Linked DNA regions of Homo sapiens: regions 1 and 3 are each linked to region 2. The links are contacts of gene promoters, found by promoter capture Hi-C in human tissues and cell types (Jung and others, 2019). All regions are on one chromosome and are shown on one strand. The core of a region is centred on a gene start or on the middle of the fragment in contact, and the rest is flanking DNA. Distances in the headings are between cores, read along the strand shown. Region 1 holds the start of SCP2 (sterol carrier protein 2). Region 2 holds the start of MAGOH (mago homolog, exon junction complex subunit). Region 3 overlaps ZYG11B (zyg-11 family member B, cell cycle regulator).

Region 1 (3,782 bases), core at 426-2,925, 310 kb after region 2:
TAATCAGGCATTCAGCAGCCAGAGGAAGGTTTGACTGCATTAATACCTTACTTCGAAAGATCCTACTGTCCACCTGTGTTAGAAGCCTCCCCTTCTGTGAAACACTAGGATGATGTCCTTCCGCTTCATAAGGTATTGGTCCACTTTTCCATTTCCATGGATATTTTTTGTTTTTGTTGAGACAAGGACTGACTCTATGGCCCAGGCTGGGGGTGCAGTTGCGTGATCTCAGCTCACTGCAACCTCCATCTCCCAGGCTCAAGCAATCCTCCCACCTCAGCCTCCCGAGTAGCTGGCGTGTGCTACCATGCCCGACTAATTTTCGTATTTTTAGTAGAGACGGGGTTTCACCATGTTGGCCAGGCTGGTCTCGAACTCTTGACCTCAGGTGATCCACCCGCCTTGGCCTCCCAAAGTGCTGGGATTACAGGCGTGAGCCACCGGCCCCGGCCTATTTACATGTTGGACTGAATTAGGTACGCTCAGCCCACTGGTAAAATAATAAACATTTTAGGGCTGTTTTCTCAGAAATAGAACTCTCCCTAGGAACTCTTTCACAAAGCATATCCATTTAGTATTGTTCAACTAACATTCACTGAGGGTCTTCAAGCATCAGGAACGTTCAGGGCGAGGGGCACAGCAGTGAATAAGCCAGGTACCCAGTCTAGAGGAGCTGCCATGCTAAGAGGGCGCGCAGACGCCTATGAGCTTTAGTACTGCCCGGTACTGCCGAGCACAGTAAGTGCAGGACAGAGGTAAGCACAGTGCAAGGCTCTAGGGGAAAGTCAGGAGGATCCGAGGCGTCCTGGAGAAGATCCGATCTGAACGGATCCTTTCAGGATGCACAAAAGTTAACAGGTGAAGATACACGGTACAAACAGAACAGAAGCAAAGCAACAGAGGCATCAGACAACTGCGTCCGGGGAGAAACGAAAGGCAGTTTGGCATTAAGGAGCATGCGGGCGATGAGGGGAAAACGGCCGTGGGAGCCTGCGGCGTCCGGGTCCCAAGCAGTCACTGGAGGGACAGAGGGAGGCCGGAATCTGCCACTCGGGCCGAGGCGCTGGGCATCAGGAGCGTTTCTCCTCGCCATCCACATCTGGAGCTGTCTCTGTGAGGGCTCCTGTGGGGGCTGTTCCTGGGAGGGCCGAGCAGGCGGCATTCGCGACCTGCCTCCCTCCGGGGCAAGCCAGCCCACACACCTCGGGACTCCGCTCAGAATCTAAAGAGGTGAGATCCTTGGATTATCTCGGGGCTGCTTCATGAACTCTGACCAGAAGAAAAGGGAAGGAGGAAGCAGAAGGCCGCAGGAACCAGCCCGAGACGCTATGACCCCAGAGATTCCGCAGAGTACAAGCCACCAAGTCGCCACGCCGATGACCCACGCGCGGAGCAGTCGAAGCTAGGAGACCGGAGGGACAGAGAAACCCAGGCACCGACCGCCCCCGAGCCTCAGAGGGCCAGCAGGGCCGCTGCTCGGTTTACCTTGGTCATGCCAACCCCCACCACGAACACCCGGCGCAGGGTCGCAGGCTCCCACGGGGAAGAGGACATGGCTGCACCAGTGCGGGACCGGGGCGGGCGCCGCGGACGACTGCCGGCACTGACAGGCGGAGACTGCACCAGAGCTCCCTGAAGCCCGAAGCCAGGGCCGCGGGCGGCAACACAGGCGCGTGAGAGTGCGCGTGCGTAGGGGCAGGAGGAGGGGGCGGGGTGGGGCGCGTCCTGTGGGGCGGGGAGCGTTCTCTAGCCCTTAGGCAGCCGAATCCCTAATTTGCGGACTTGGGCATGGGACTGAGTCAACCTGTCCCCATCTCTGATCCTGTGCTTAGGTTCTGTACGGTGAGCGGGAGTAGGCTTGCAGTGGGGCCTAAGACTGAGAGGAGGGGTTGGCCGGAAAGCGGACTCATGAAAGGTGACCCTGAGGAGAGCCGTTGGGGTTCGTGTTGGAATTGGCCTGTGTCCTGTTAGCGGTGGCAGTTGAGAGTGAATTCATGAATTTAAACTCACAGGACACCAAGAAAGCGGGGATGGGCAGGATCTCACACATGGATACAATGTCTAAATCAAAAAACCCAGGCTCCGTCACCAGCTGCGTGACCTTTTTAATCTTGTGAACAAAAGTTCTCCGAAAAGGAATTTGGAAGACAGAGACTTTATTCCAGCAAACCGGGGAGAAACAGCCTTCCATGTTTATTGGAGACCGGAGTCTCGCTCTGTCGCCCAGGCTGGAGTGCAATGCCGCGAACTCGGCTCACTGCAGCCTCCGCCTCCCAGGTTCAAGCAATCCTCCTGCCTCAGCCTCCCGAGTATCTGGGATTACAGGCGCGCGCCACCACGCCCCGCTAATTTTTGTATTTTTAGTAGAGATGGGGTTTCGCCATGTTGGCCAGGCTGGTCTGGAACTCCTGACCTTAGGTGATCTACCCACCTTGGCCTCCCAAAGTGCTGGGATTACAGGCGTGAGCCACCGCGCCCGGCTCCCCGGTTTATTTTATCTTATGTAAAAATGCAGATTCATTGAGCTAGATGAATGCATAAGTGACTATTTCTCTACCCCCCTCACATGTGAAGGTTGATCAAAGACTCAGAAGAATGCAACCGTTTGCCTCTTATCTACCCACATCTTTTTAAAATTTATTCATCTTTCCCCAATATCTGCCCCTTCCCCTATAAAAACTGAAGCCCTCAAAATCATCTTTGGAGAAAGGCACGGACCTGTCTCCAAAGATGATGCACGTCCTTAAACTTGGCAAAATTAACTTCTAAATTAATTGAGATCCGTTTCATATACTTTTCGGTTTGCAGTATCAGCATTTAGAAAGGCTCTCCTAGAAGATTCTAAGGATTGCTTCTTGGCCATTTGGCTAAGATCAAGTTTAGGAGATTCTAAGAAGCCCCCTCTGTGCTAAGTAAAGAACTACTGAGCTAGGACTAGACCAACTTAGTAAAATTGCTGCGCTCAGTGATGCACGCCTCCCATCTGCTCAGGAGGCTTCGGCAGAAAGATCACTTGAGCCTGGGAATTCAAGGCTACAAATGTGCTATGATTACACCTCTGAATAGCCACTGCACTCCAGCCTGGGCAACATACCAAGACCACGTCTCTAAAAAACCAAAACGAAACAAAAAAAAAAAAAAAAGAAAAACAAACACAAATCAGGGCACTGACATGTACAGTTGTTTCTTGAAACTGATGGACTGACAAGACAGCAATATGATTGGTGGATCAGACAAAGTTACCAACCTAATAGAACAACAAGTCCTAAGGTCAAGATTAATTGTTATGTAACAAATCCTGGCTGTCCACTGGATATTGCTTTCAAAATAAGAGTCCATAGAGGGCAGAGGGGATAGATAGTAATATAAAAGGTATTTGTTAATACCGAAAAGACTGAGAAAAAACACTTCCCTTTCCAATGTGAAGGACTAAATAATCCAAACTTTTCCCACTATAAAACACAGACTTTTCTAAGTCATTGGATGTGGGGCTCTGGGGTAGCCTGAGCTGTTTGTCCCACACCAAGATGCTTCAAAACATTATTAAAAATGTTTGGATCCCCATGAAGCCCTATTATAACCAAGTTTATCAGGAGATTTGAGTAGGAATGGGGTTAATGAGCCTCATCATTTATAAAATCAGGAGTACTGATAAAATAAGTAAAATATTGAAAGCTTCTCCACCTGCTTATGGTCATCACTAACCAGCTTCACTTAGCATGCACATGAAATGAAACATTAGTCGACCTGTGAATTTAAGCAAGCTATGTTAGAAAGGAACC
Region 2 (3,411 bases), core at 505-3,004:
AATAAAAATGTCTTATGGTTTTACAGCAATTTAGTTTCCGAGACATTGTTTCTTACAACAGTTCTGCTAGGTGTACATTATTATGCTCATTTTAAAGAGAAGGAAACTGAAGTCTAAAAAGTTGAGTCGGTTCACCTTTGGTTACAATGAGTCATTGTTACACAGGGATTATTTTAACCTGTGTCCAGTGATTTTTCCCCCACCACACCTACTCTACACTCTGCTGCTAATGCTTTTGCAGGGAGAAAAGGACTCCGTGTTAAGACTGAGGGCCGGGCGCGGTGGCTCATGCCTGTAATCCCAGCACTTTGGGAGGCCGAGGCAGACGGATCGCCTGAGGTCGGGAGTTCGAGACCAGCCTGGCCAACATGGTGAAACCCCGTCTCTACTAAAAACAGAAAATTACAAAAATTAGCTGGACATGGTGGCGCATGCCTGTAATCCCAGCTACTTGGGAGGCTAAGGCAGGAGAATCACTTGAACCCAGGAGTTTGAGACCAGCGTGGGCAACATAGGGAGACTTTGCCTCTACAAAAAGTTTAAAAATTAGGTAGGCGAGGTTGCGGTGAACTGAGATCACTCCATTGCACTCCAGCCTGGGCAACAAGAGCGAAACTCCGTCTCAAAAAGAAAAGACTGGGAATAGGAATCAGAGACTGCTGTCCCAACTTACAGAATCGTATACAGTTCTAGCCGCCAGGACCCAAGAATGATGTCATCTCGGCACTGTCTCTAGAACCATTCATTCTTTCTAAGCCTGGAACTTAGATGAGTGAAAGCAGGTTCCTATTACATAATTATGATCTTGATTGCCCTGGGCCTACTCAACTGTAAATTTTTTCCAGAGCCAGAAAGGCTTCACAGAGGACAACTTTACCCTGAAAAGAAAGGACCTCTTTGGTCAGTGGTCCTCAACTCTGACTCACCTGAAAGCTTTACAAAAAGTACCAATGCCCAGGTCCAGCGCTGGAGATTTTAACTGGCTTGGGGTAGAGCCCTGGCATCAGTATTTTTAGAGGCTTCCCAAGTGATTGCAATGTGCAGCCAGGCAGAGAATTACTGCTCGGTAAGTGGGATGACTGGGGAGTGGGAGATCAAATACTCTAACGTCTCCCAGCACCTATTCTAGAGATCAGTGGGGCAGAAAGGTAGAAATAAAAGGTGGAAAGGGATGAAATGGGTAAGTGTGGGTGAATTAGTTCCAGGAAAACGGCAATCTCCACTGTGGATTCAGGGAAGGCGTCACTGAGGAGGGCTTTCTTAACAGTTCAGGTCAGTGGAAGCCAACTTGAGGCACACATCGTGCGCGGCATCCTCCGGGGAGGTCGGGTCATTTCACCCCATTTTACTGCCGAGATGACCTAGGTCCAGAGACGGTAAAGAGCGGTGTACGACTCACACAAGTCGGGGGTCCTGTGAACCGAGGTTGAGCCTGGCGGGCCTTCGGCCCGAGGTCTTTAAGCGAAGTCACCAGACCCGGGGTTCAAAGCCCAGAGGTAGGCAGGCGGCTGGCTCTCCGCCTCAGGCCTGGAGAGAACCCAGGGGTATGAACCTCAACCTCGCTCCCGCGTCCAGCTGGAGGGGCGGAGCTGGCTGGCCCCGCCTCCGGGTTAAACAAAGTTCTTTACAGACTAGGCGTGAGGGGATGTTGCAGTCTTGTTGCCACTTCCGGGCGAAGAGGTTAGCGAGAAGGAACCCCTCCACGCAGCGACGACGGGACCTGACGTCACTTCCGCGCGCCGCCGCAAACGTCAGTGTCGGGCGCAGACGGCGGCAGTGCGGCTTGCTCTTGGAAGTTCAGGCTCGGTTGTCTTTTGGGAGCCATGGAGAGTGACTTTTATCTGCGTTACTACGTGGGGCACAAGGGCAAGTTCGGCCACGAGTTCCTGGAGTTTGAGTTTCGACCGGACGGTAAAAGCAGCCTGCCGCCCGCCGGGAGCGGGGACCAGGCCTGGGGGCCGGCGAGTGGGGAGGCCGAGGGTCGGAAATCTGTGGGGAACTAGAGGAGGGAGGGACTGAGACCTGTGCAGTGCAGATCTTAAAGGAACGCCACTGTGTCTGCTCCACGGGGTCTTTCTATCCATTCAGCAAACGTTGACTGAACGCCCACTGTGTGCCAGGCTCTGTTCCACTCTTTGGGAATACGGCAGCGAAGGTAGACAAACTTCCCCTCTCGTGGAACTTGTGTTTTACTGCCGGGAGAGAGATCATAAACAAAAAGATGATTCCAGATAGCAGTGAGTGGTCAAAAAATAACATGGTAGAATAATTGCTGGATGGGCTGCTTTTAGATAGGTTGGCCATTAGAGAGCTCTCTGTAAAGGGTATATTGCAGCCGAGTCCTAATTAACAAGAAGGGCTCAGCCTTGTGAAGCTCATAAGGAAGACCATTCTACACAAAGGGAATACCAGATGTCAAGGCTGCAGGGCGGGAATGAGCTAGGCGTGTCTCAGGTGGTCAGTGTGGTTGAAGAGTGGTGAGCTGGGAGATAGCAGGAGATGATGTCGGATAGGTAGGTAGGAGCGGCACCTCTTAGGTCTTTATAGACCACGGTAAAAAGTTTGGACTTGGAAGGCCTTTTTTTTTTTTTTTTTTTTGAGACGGCTTTCGCTCTTTTTGCCCAGGCTGGAGTGCAATGGCGCGATCTCGGCTTATTGCAACCTCCGCCTCCCGGGTTCAAGTGATTCTCCTGCCTCAGCCTCCCGAGTAGCTGGAATTATAGGCGCCCACCACCACGCCCGGCTAATTTTGTATTTTTAGTAGAGACGGAGTTTCACCATGTTGGCCAGGCTGGTCTCGAACTCCTGACCTCAGGTGATACGCCCGCCTCGGCGTCCCAAAGTGCTGGGATTACAGGTGTGAGCCACCGCGCCCGGCCGGGCTTGGAAGGTTTTAAGCAGAGAAGAAATGTGATCTCTTCTTGAAAAAGCATTCTGGTTATTGGGTGCGGAATGGGCAAGAGTGGAAACAGGGCTATTGATTAGGAGACTGTTGCAGTTGTCAAGACACGAAAGATGTTGGGGGCCGGGCGCGGTGGCTCAAGCCTGTAATCTCAGCCCTTTGGGAGGCCGAGGTATGCGGATCACTTGAGGTCAGGAGTTCAAGACCAGCCTGGCCAACATGGTGAAACCCCGCCTCTACTAAAAATACAAAAATTAGCCGGGTGTGGTGGCAGACGCCTGTAATCCCAGCTGCTCGGGAGGCTGAGACAGGAGAATCTCTTGAACCTGGGGCGGAGGTTGCAGCAAGCTGAGATAGTGCCACTGTACCCCAGCCTGGGTGACAGAGCAAGACTCTGTCTCAAAAAAAAAAAAAAAAAAAGATACTGGTTGGGACTACAGAGATAGTAGAAATGGAGAGAAAGATTTAGGAAACTGTTGGAGGCAGAACCAACTGGACTTTGATCGTTG
Region 3 (3,340 bases), core at 372-2,871, 420 kb after region 2:
CATGCTCATTCTGAAAGAATACCTTAAGTTGGCCGGGCACAGTGGCTTATGCCTGTAATCCCAGCACTTTGGGAGGCTTAGGCGGGCGGATCACCTGAGGTCAGGAGTTTGAGACCAGCCTGGCCAACATGGTGAAACCCCGTCTCTACTAAAAAAAAATAATAATAATACAAAAATTAGCCGGGCATGGTGGCAGGTGCCTGATATCTCAGCTACTCGGGAGGCTGAGGCAGGAGAATCGCTTGAACCCAGGAGGCGGAGGTTCCAGTGAGCCGAGATCGCGCCACTGTACTCCAGCCTGGGGAACAAGAGCGAGACTTCGTCTCAAAAAAAAAAAAAAAAAAAAAAAAAGAATACCTTAAGTTTATAACCTAAGATGGCCTTACATTTTAAGTCAGTGTTCTTAAAAATCACTTTAATACACAATTTAGAAATATCTTTCCTGGGAAATGAGAATTTCACTTAAAGAAAAAAAACACAGTTCTTTTTTTTTGGTACATACGATTCTTGCTGCAGACATGTTGCATGGCCCAAACTGCCCATAGCTGAACTCCTGGTGTTGTGAAACAGCCAAGTAATGGGAAAAATGGATTAAAGGACCTAAAGGTTCAAAAGAAAAGAATCAAAGTTACATCCCATATTTAGCGTAATTTCCTAAAGCAGTGATTCCTAAACTTTTCATTTTCAAAATTTTATCCTATTATATTTAGACTAATATAAATGAGCTATAGAATATCATTTCTTTGTCTTAACCATTTCAGAGAAGACTGCATTCAGACATGACTCAGTACAGAAGATGGAAGGTGATTAGAACATGGTAGTGAAAGAGAAAAAATTTTTCCAAAAGCACTTTTTAGTCTTAAAGATACACATTTGAAGATAAGTAGATCTTGGTTTGGAAACTAAGAAATAGAGAAATTAGGTGATAACTAACTAGTAGAACACTATGAAAAAGATGTATAATTATCCCTTCTATTTTCTACTGGTCTGAATAAAAATAGGTGGAACATAAGTTGGAGAAATAAAAAAAATGTTGGCAACATCAGCATTTATGAACCAAACAAAAAAAATAAGTTGAATAAAAATTAAATACTTCAGGTAATTAGTAATTTAATTATCAAGTTATCTAATTACAAACAGAGTTAGGCATCCAGTATGCACTTCTTAATTTTTGTTATTTATTTATTTATTTATTTTGATACGGAGTCTCGCTCTGTCGCCCAGGCTGGAGTGCAGTGGCGCGATCTCAGCTCACTGCAACCTCCGCCTCCTGGGTTCACGGCATTCTCCTGCCTCAGCCTCCCAAGTAGCTGGGACTACAGGCGCCTGCCACCACGCCCGGCTAATTTTTTTGTATTTTTAGTAGAGACGGGGTTTCACCACGTTAGCCAGGATAGTCTCGATCTCCTGACCTCGTGATCTGCCCGCCTCGGCCTCCCAAAGTGCTGGGATTACAGGCATGAGCCACCATGCCCGGCCTATTTATTTATTTTTACATTTATTTATTTATTTGAGACAGGGTCTCACTCTGTTGCTCAGGCTGGAGTGCAGTAAGGCGATCTCAACTCATTGCAGCCTCAACCTTCCAGGCTCAAGCGATTCTCCCACCTTAGCCTCCCAAGCAGCTTGGACTACAGGGATGTGCCACCACAACTGGCTAATTTTTTATTTTTTGTAGAGACGGGGTCTCACTATGTTGCTCAGGCTGAGCTCAAGTGATCTACCTGCCTTGGCCTTCCGAAGTGGTGGGACTACAGGTGTATGCCATCATGCCCAGGTTTTTTTATTTTTTAGTAGAGATGAGGTCTCACTATGATGCCTAGGCTAGTCTGCAACTCCTGAACTCAAGTGATACTACCACCTCAGTCTCTCAAAGTGTTGGGATTATAGGTGTGAGCCACCATGCCAGGCCCAGTATGCCCTTTAATAAATTATTACAAACTGTTTCCCCAACCAAATCTAGTGTTATTCCTTTTTTGAGAGTCTCATTCTGTCACCCAGGCTGCAGTGCAGTGGCGCCATCTCAGCTCACTGCAACCTCCACCTCCCAAGTTCAAGCGATTCTCATGCCTCAGCCTCCCAAGTAGCTGGAATTACAGGTGTGCACCACCATGCCCCACTAACTTTGTTCTTTCAGTAGAGACAGGGGTTTCAACATGTTGGCCAAGCTGGTCTCGAACTCCTGGATTGAAGTGATCCACCCACCTCAGCCTCCCAAAGTGCTGGGATTATAGGCATGAGCCACAATGCCTGGCCCAAATCTGGTGCTACTTCTAATTCCTTCAATGTGTCATTTTATTTTAGACCTTCCTACATTAATACGATGCTTTTTCTTCCTAAAAATCTCCTGCCTCTCCTTATCTTTCAACACTCAGGTCACAACTCACTTCCTCTGAAAGGTGTGTGTGTGTGTGTGTGTGTGTGTGTATTTACATTTGGAGTCTTGCTCTGTCACTCAGGCTGGAATGCAGTGATGCAATCATAACTCACTGCAGCCTCAAACTCCTGGGCTCAAGTGATCCTCCCAGGACTACAGGTATGTGCTACCCCACTGGGCTTCACCTTTAATTTCATAACATTCTATGGACATTTGGCATAACGGTATTTTATCTGATCCACATTCACTCTCCCTCACAAGGATATAAAATTCTTGTGTGCAGACACCATGTCTTTGTTCATTTTTGTATTTCAAGAGCATAGAACAAATTCCTAGCACTTGTCTTCAACAAATGTGAAATGAAGGAAACATGAAGAGTGATAGGTGGTAGAAAAAAGTCAAAATACTTTGCTTCTTTTAAAGCCAATACTTTTGGCTGGGTGTGGTGGCTCACGCCTGTAATCCCAGCACTTAGGGGGGCCCAGGCAGGCAGATCACCTGAGGTCAGGAGTTCAAGACCAGCCTGGCCAACATGGTGAAACCTCGTCTCTACTAAAAATACAAAAATTAGCGGGGCGTGGTCGTGGGCGCCTATAATCCCAGCTACTCGGGAGGCTGAGGCAGGGGAATTGCTTCAACCTGGGAGGTGGAGGTTGCAGTGAGCCAAGATCATGCACTGCACTCCAGCCATGGCGACGGAGTGAAACTCTGTCTCAAAATAAATAAATAAATAACCAATATTGAGGTGCCTGAGGGAAAAATTATGCATCTAGTAGGAATGACTCTTAGGAATGATCTCTAGACTAGGTTGCTGGTTTACTGTTAATTATGATACTAATTACCTGTATGCTACCATCTCACACTCTGGAGTTGGCCATTTCAAAATAGCTGAATGCTGGAAGACAAAAGACACACAAGAAAGGATTACAATATTTATTTAGCACTGCATTATTTACTACATTA

The links. The method cuts DNA at HindIII sites, captures the fragments that hold promoters and counts their contacts. A contact is called where the count stands out against the background at its distance.
Region 1: a contact is called between the fragment with the promoter of SCP2 here and the fragment with the promoter of MAGOH in region 2, in 1 of the 25 tissues and cell types used here (IMR-90 fibroblasts).
Region 3: a fragment that was not itself captured here is called in contact with the fragment with the promoter of MAGOH in region 2 in 1 of the 25 tissues and cell types used here (IMR-90 fibroblasts).

The regions. Positions count from the first base shown.
Region 1 is chr1:52,925,169-52,928,950 of GRCh38, reverse strand. It overlaps SCP2 (sterol carrier protein 2), which reads right to left and starts at 1,675. Exons shown (of 16, transcript NM_002979.5): 1 at 1,486-1,675. The coding sequence starts at 1,554. It also overlaps the pseudogene LOC100652967. RefSeq lists enhancers at 1,253-1,342, 1,353-1,412, 1,065-1,580 and a silencer at 1,633-1,912. The HindIII fragment of the contact is 8,329 bases long and covers 1-3,782 here.
Region 2 is chr1:53,236,861-53,240,271 of GRCh38, reverse strand. It overlaps MAGOH (mago homolog, exon junction complex subunit), which reads left to right and starts at 1,754. Exons shown (of 5, transcript NM_002370.4): 1 at 1,754-1,911. The coding sequence starts at 1,824. It overlaps MAGOH-DT (MAGOH divergent transcript), which reads right to left and starts at 1,662. Exons shown (of 3, transcript NR_038953.1): 1 at 927-1,662. RefSeq lists enhancers at 1,743-1,872, 1,913-1,972, 1,460-2,101. The HindIII fragment of the contact is 12,596 bases long and covers 1-3,411 here.
Region 3 is chr1:52,813,792-52,817,131 of GRCh38, reverse strand. It overlaps ZYG11B (zyg-11 family member B, cell cycle regulator), which reads right to left. Exons shown (of 14, transcript NM_024646.3): 12 at 3,220-3,272; 13 at 503-600. Among named protein-coding and RNA genes, the nearest start is that of ZYG11A, 27 kb to the left of the region's middle. RefSeq lists an enhancer at 2,301-2,595. The HindIII fragment of the contact is 4,967 bases long and covers 1-3,340 here.